Linked DNA regions of Homo sapiens: region 2 is linked to region 1. The links are contacts of gene promoters, found by promoter capture Hi-C in human tissues and cell types (Jung and others, 2019). All regions are on one chromosome and are shown on one strand. Each heading gives the region's core, a stretch centred on a gene start or on the middle of the fragment in contact. The rest is flanking DNA. Distances are from core to core; before and after follow the strand shown.

Region 1 (2,936 bases), core at 112-2,611:
TGGGTCCACAGGAAGCAGATTATCATGGAGCAATTTTACCTATAAACTATAGATAAATAAATACAAATCGGTAATATAAATAAATAATAGGTAATATTCATACTAACTTCTGTGCGAGGCACTGTGCAAAGTACTGTTTATAGAGTGATCTCATCTAATCTGCACAGTGACCCTGTAAAGCATGTGCTATTATTGTCCTCCCTTTTACAACTGAGGAAACAAAGGTTCTAAGAGGTGAAAGAACTTGTCCAAAGTCACACAGGCACTTCAATTGGGGTCTAACTGCGTGTGTGTGTGTGTGTGTGTGTGTGTGTGTGTGTGTGTGTTTGAGATGGAGTCTCGCTCTGTCCCCCAGGCTGGAGTGCAGTGGCACAATCTTGGCTTACTGCAACCTCCGCCTCCTGGGTTCAAGCGATTCTCCCACCTCAGCCCCCTGAGTAGCTGGAATTACAGGCGCCCGAGTAGCTGGAATACAGGCGCATGCCACCACTCCTGGCTCATTTTTGTATTTTTAGTAGAGATGGGGTTTCACCATGTTGGCCAGGCTAGCCTTGAACCCCTGGCTTTAAGTGATCTGCCCGCCTTGGCCTCCCAAAGTGCTGGGATTTCAGGCATGAGCCACCATGCCCGGTTGTGTGTGTGTGTGTTTTAAAAGACTTTATTTTTAGAGAAGTTTTAGGTTCACAGTGAAGTTGAGTGGAAATTACAGACTTCCCATATACACCCTGTCCCCAAGGCACATCTTGGAGTCTTTCTTCCCACCAGATTGCTGACCCTGAATTTCTCCTCTGGAGAAATTATGAGAGGCATCATTGATGCATTGTTAGAGACCTAGTACCCACTGAGCCAACCACAAGTTGTTATCAAAATGCCACAATGAGGTCATTAAGGGCGACTGGCTAGGCCTGTCAGTGAATGTTTCCGGAGCAGCTCCTAACTGCTGTAGCAGAGAGAATCCCCGACAGTGTCCCCTCCCTTCTTCTTCCCAAGCTTGGGGAGCCCCAGCCCCATTTCTTTTCTTTTCTTTTCTTTTTTTTTTTTTTTTTTGAGATGGAGTCTTGCTCTGTTGCCTAGGCTCGAGTGCAATGGCACAATCTTGGCTCACTGCAACCTCTGCCTCCTGGGTTCAAGCGATTCTCCTGCCTGAGCCTCCTGCGTAGCTAGGATCATAGGCATGCGCCACCATGCCTGGCTAATTTTTGTATTTTTGATAGAGATGGGGTTTTGCCATATTGGCCAGGCTGGTCTCGAACTCCTGACCTCAGGTGATCCACCCACCTCGGCCTCCCAAAGTGTTGGGATTATAGGCGTGAGCCACTGTGCCCAGCCACCCCAGCCCCATTTCTGCAGGGGGAGGCTGAGGGAGAAACTCCTTTAGGAAGGGTATTAGCTTTGGCACTAACACGCTGTGTCATCTTGAGCAAGAAAGACTCCCCCCTGCTGTGGGCCTCAGTCTCCCCATCTGCAAAATGAGGGGGTCTGACCAGCTCATCTCTAAGGATCCTTATAGCTCCAACACTCTGATTCTTGAATCCTACACCTCCACTATGCTTGTAATAAGAAGATCAAAATGTTTATTTCTGATCCAGCCCCTGAGACAAGTGATCTGGGGGCCCACAAAGGTCTTGCACCAGGTATAACATTAGCTGTTTTTGTCTTTGGATGGGTCCTAGTTGTCTTCTTGGTGAGGACTGAGAACAGCTGGAGCAGCTGATGGTTAAGACCCAGGTTCACATCTCCTGCCCCTGGGTCCAAGAGCTGCTGGGGATGCCACCATCTGAAAACCATGCTGGATGGGGGTGTTGGGAGTGTCCCAAACTGAGGATTCACCCGACTCCTCAGCAGGTCCTGAAGTGTTAAAGCTTCGGCTTCCTCTGATTCTCTGGCCTCTTCTGGATGCTTCATGTTGCAAGAGCAGAAACTCAACTCAAAGTGACTGAAAGGAATGATTGGTACATTTACCTAAGAGAAATGGAGGTGGGAGGGCTAGCTTCGGGAAGGAAGTTTGATTCAGCAGCTCACATGTCACCAAAGACTCTAGTTTCCTCTGTTCTGCCTCCCATGATGCTGCCTTCATCTTAAGGCTGGCTTCCCTTGTGGGCCTCGGGGTCACCAGTGGGAATTCAGCCTTATGAGATCATATCCTGCAGGAATGAGAAAGTCAACTTCTCTATTCCTCAAACAACATTCCTGAAATTAAGTCTTGTTGGACCTGATTGGCTAGGGGCTAGGGAGTAGGGGGTAAGAGATAGGGTTGTGGGCCCCTCCTTGACCAAGCTCTGTGTCCTGAAGGATGGGGCTTACTGGCAGGCTTAAATTCAGAGGCTGGTGGGTGGCTAACAAATGTCTTGACATATACCCCTCTCTTCAGAAGTCAACTAGTGCCTGGCACATGGTGGCACTTTGTTCGTTAAGTCAACAGCTATTTGGTGAATATCCACCACGTGCAAGAAATTGTGCTTGATGCTGAGAAAAAGCAGTGAACAGAAAGATAAGGTCCCTGCCCTCATGGACTTTCTCTGGGAGGGGAGACAGACATATAAATATGCAGACAGTACAATTCAACCAGTGCCAGCTGAGGTTACATAGCCCAGGGGAGGAAATCCAAACTGTGCTTCTGTGGAGGGGAATGGCGGGCAGGAAAGCTTTAGAGAGGAGGTAGCATTTACACTGGGCCTTAAATTTAGCCATTCCACAATGTATTCATATTTCAAAGCATCATGTTGTACATATGAGTAAATAAATACAATTTTTGTCAATTTAAAAAATAAATAGAAATTTGAGGGTCAGAGTGAGACACTCCTTTAAGCTGACATTCTTCAAATATTTGCTCTATGGTTATTTAGAGCAGGGGCTGGGAAGGAGGCACAGATAACCACACTTAGCCTCTCGATGGTCCTGACCTCCTGGACCCTGGACAAACCTGTAGACTCCAC
Region 2 (2,778 bases), core at 150-2,649, 87 kb before region 1:
TTTTTTCTGTTTCTTTGTTGTGGTGACTGAGATCACATCCTACTTCTTTACTCTCAGCTCCAGTGTCACTTTCTCCAGGAAGCCAGCTCTGACCCCTGAGATTAGGTTCGAGTGCCTTCGTTGAGCCTCCATGTACTCTGGGTGCTACTTGAGCACTTGTAATGACAGTTTCTGTGTGTCTGAGACAGGACCCAGTTGTGCTTATTATCCCTGGGACCCTGGCAGTCTGCACAGTCAGTGCCTGGCACTGAGTGATTCTCCCTTAGTGACTGCTGGTTAGAATTGGATACCCCTTCTCCACAAGGCACCCATTTGCCTCCCTCTGCTCACACCATTCTTCTCCTGTCCCTCCTGTACAAATCCAATGCATTCCTCAAAGCCAGGCTGCAGAGCCCTCTCCATCATGAAGTCTTCCTTGATCTCCAGATTCCTAGAAGGTCAGAGCTGACAGACCCTTGAAGAGCATCCAATCCAACCATCATAGACAGATGAGGAGCCTGAGGCCGGAAGAGTTCTTGCCCCAGGCCCCCCATTAGGGTTAGTGGGGCAGAGGTCATGCTGGCATCCCACCTGGTCCAGGTAGGAGTTGGTACGGAGAGCGATGGTGATGGCATTGATCACCAGCAGCAGGGCCAGCAGCAGTTGGAAGGCGGGGTGTCGGAGCAGCTGCTTGATGTACATGTGAGTGATGAACTCCTGCATGTCCCAGGCGTCCTGGAAGAGGGCAGGACCTTCCTTCAGGCAGGTGTCACCATAGGAAGCCTCTGCCTGGGGGTTTGCTCTTAGAGAATGGGGGTTCCTGGGGCCCACTCTAGAGGGGGGAAATCATCTGAGAGTGGATCATGGAATGGAGACATCAGTGTAGAGATCACTATCTAAATGGCCACTAAAAGTGGGTTACTATCGGGGGATTTTGTGGAAGTCATTGCCAGAGAATCTCTTTGGGCTCTCTGATAGTGAAGATGATCGTTATATAAGGGTTCCTATGGGGGGCATTGCCAGAGAGTTACTAACATATCATGGGCAGTCACTCAGGGATCAGTGCTAGGGAGGGTCTTCTGGGGGCGTTTAGAGGGTAGAGGGGCAGAGTTACCATGAGGGCCTGCTGCCCATGAGCACAGCTGCAGAAGGGGCCACTGTGGGGCGAGAGCTATCCTTACCGCTTTGTTCGTGATTTCCTGGCGGTTGATGAGCACTTGCTCCTCTGGCCGACCGTAGGACTCGTGAATGGTACTCTGCAGGGGAGAGGGGCGGCCCCTCAGTGCAGCTACTGCCCCTCCAAACCCCATACGGTCCTCCTGAGTCCCGCCCCACCCCTCGAGGCCTGTATGGGAGGTCCATTGCTGCCACCAGGCCTTTTCATTATCCCTCATGTTTGCTCAGTCTCTTCCTTCTCCTCAAAGAATCTTCACTCCAAGTGGTCTCACTCCCCCTCGTGGTGATATCACAGAGGCCTCTGTGACCTCCAGCCGTCTGCATTCTACTGAGGAATTCCAACCTGGAGAGAAGCTCCTCCCATTGGCCCTCCTCCGCATCCCACAGAGGAAGTCTGGGGATGCTGTGGGGATGCTGGGCTGGGGTTGGAAGTCAGAGGCTGATGGGAGCAGGTCAGATTTCCCGTGCAGCCTGAATGGAGTCACAGGGACATGTCCCTGCCTTGGATCCAGGAGGTGGAGGTGAGGCTGGAATGAGGAGTGAAGGAGAGAAGTGTTTTCCCCAGGGCCTTCCCAGGGCAGACCTCAACCTGCACCCTTCCCCACCAGCTGCCCTGTCCTACCAGCCCAGTCTCCAGGACTGTCCCCACCACCTTTCCGTGCAAAGTGCATTTCCCCATCTACAAAGTGGAAGTTTCTCATTGTGTGCCCCCCGGGAATGGGGTAGGAGATCACCATTAGCCTTCAAAGAGCTGGGGAGAGGTGGACATGAGTCGGAGCCCTCATTAGCCATGGGTCATCCCCCACCATCCTGGCAGGCTTGGAGCTCGGGTACAGAGCCCAGGCCAACGGGCTGCACGAAGGGTCTGCCACCCACCCTCTGGCCAAGAGCACTCACCCCAGTCCCCACAGGGGGGCAGATTTCCAATTCGAATATGGAAGTAAAGTTACATGTAGACTCATTCTTAGAAAAATTGACTTTATTTGGTTGGAAAGTAGCCCTCATGTAAAATAAAGAACACCTGTACAGACCTGGTTTGGGGGAGAACTGCCAAGGAACTGGAGGGGCAGGGCTGTGGCCCCAGAGGTTGGAGGATTTGGGGGGAGAGTTTCTTCTTTGGCAAGGGAGAGGGTGGCACAAAGCCCAGGCAGAGGGGTCAGCTCGGGGTGAGACCATGACTAGCAGTACTACTTCCCACCCTGAACAGAATCCAGGGATGCTCTGTCCTGGACACGTCAGAAGCTGGGGTTGAGGTGGCCCTCGGGTCAAAGGTCAGGAGCTAGAGTGCTGGCCAGGGTCAGAGGTCAGGAGGTCGGAGGCTGCTCTCTGAGGTCAGGGGGCAGAGATGGGAGTGCTCTTCAGGGTCAGAGGGCAGGGAGTGGGGGGACTGTTCTGTGGAGTCAGAGGTCAAGATGTGGGAGCTGCCTTCAGCCTGTGCCACTCCCCAGGCCCCCAGGCCCTCTGAGTACAGCTCCCGGTTCTGCTCCTTCCACTGGCGGAACTTCTCTCCTGTCAGCTCAGGGTCACCCAGCACTTCTTCTAGGACCTGCAGCTCCTGCAGCTTTGCCTGTGTGGAGAGGAGGGGCTAAGGGACCATGATCACCCAGGGAAGTGGGCAGAGCC

The links. The method cuts DNA at HindIII sites, captures the fragments that hold promoters and counts their contacts. A contact is called where the count stands out against the background at its distance.
Region 2: a contact is called between the fragment with the promoter of CATSPER4 here and a fragment that was not itself captured in region 1, in 3 of the 25 tissues and cell types used here (aorta, lymphoblastoid cells and spleen).

The regions. Positions count from the first base shown.
Region 1 is chr1:26,101,876-26,104,811 of GRCh38, reverse strand. No RefSeq gene overlaps it. Among named protein-coding and RNA genes, the nearest start is that of PDIK1L, 8.5 kb to the left of the region's middle. The HindIII fragment of the contact is 4,487 bases long and covers 1-2,936 here.
Region 2 is chr1:26,189,223-26,192,000 of GRCh38, reverse strand. It overlaps CATSPER4 (cation channel sperm associated 4), which reads right to left and starts at 1,399. Exons shown (of 10, transcript NM_198137.2): 1 at 1,161-1,399; 2 at 571-714. The coding sequence starts at 1,373. It overlaps CNKSR1 (connector enhancer of kinase suppressor of Ras 1), which reads right to left. Exons shown (of 21, transcript NM_006314.3): 21 at 2,117-2,722. The coding sequence ends at 2,453. RefSeq lists an enhancer at 696-1,513. The HindIII fragment of the contact is 15,004 bases long and covers 1-2,778 here.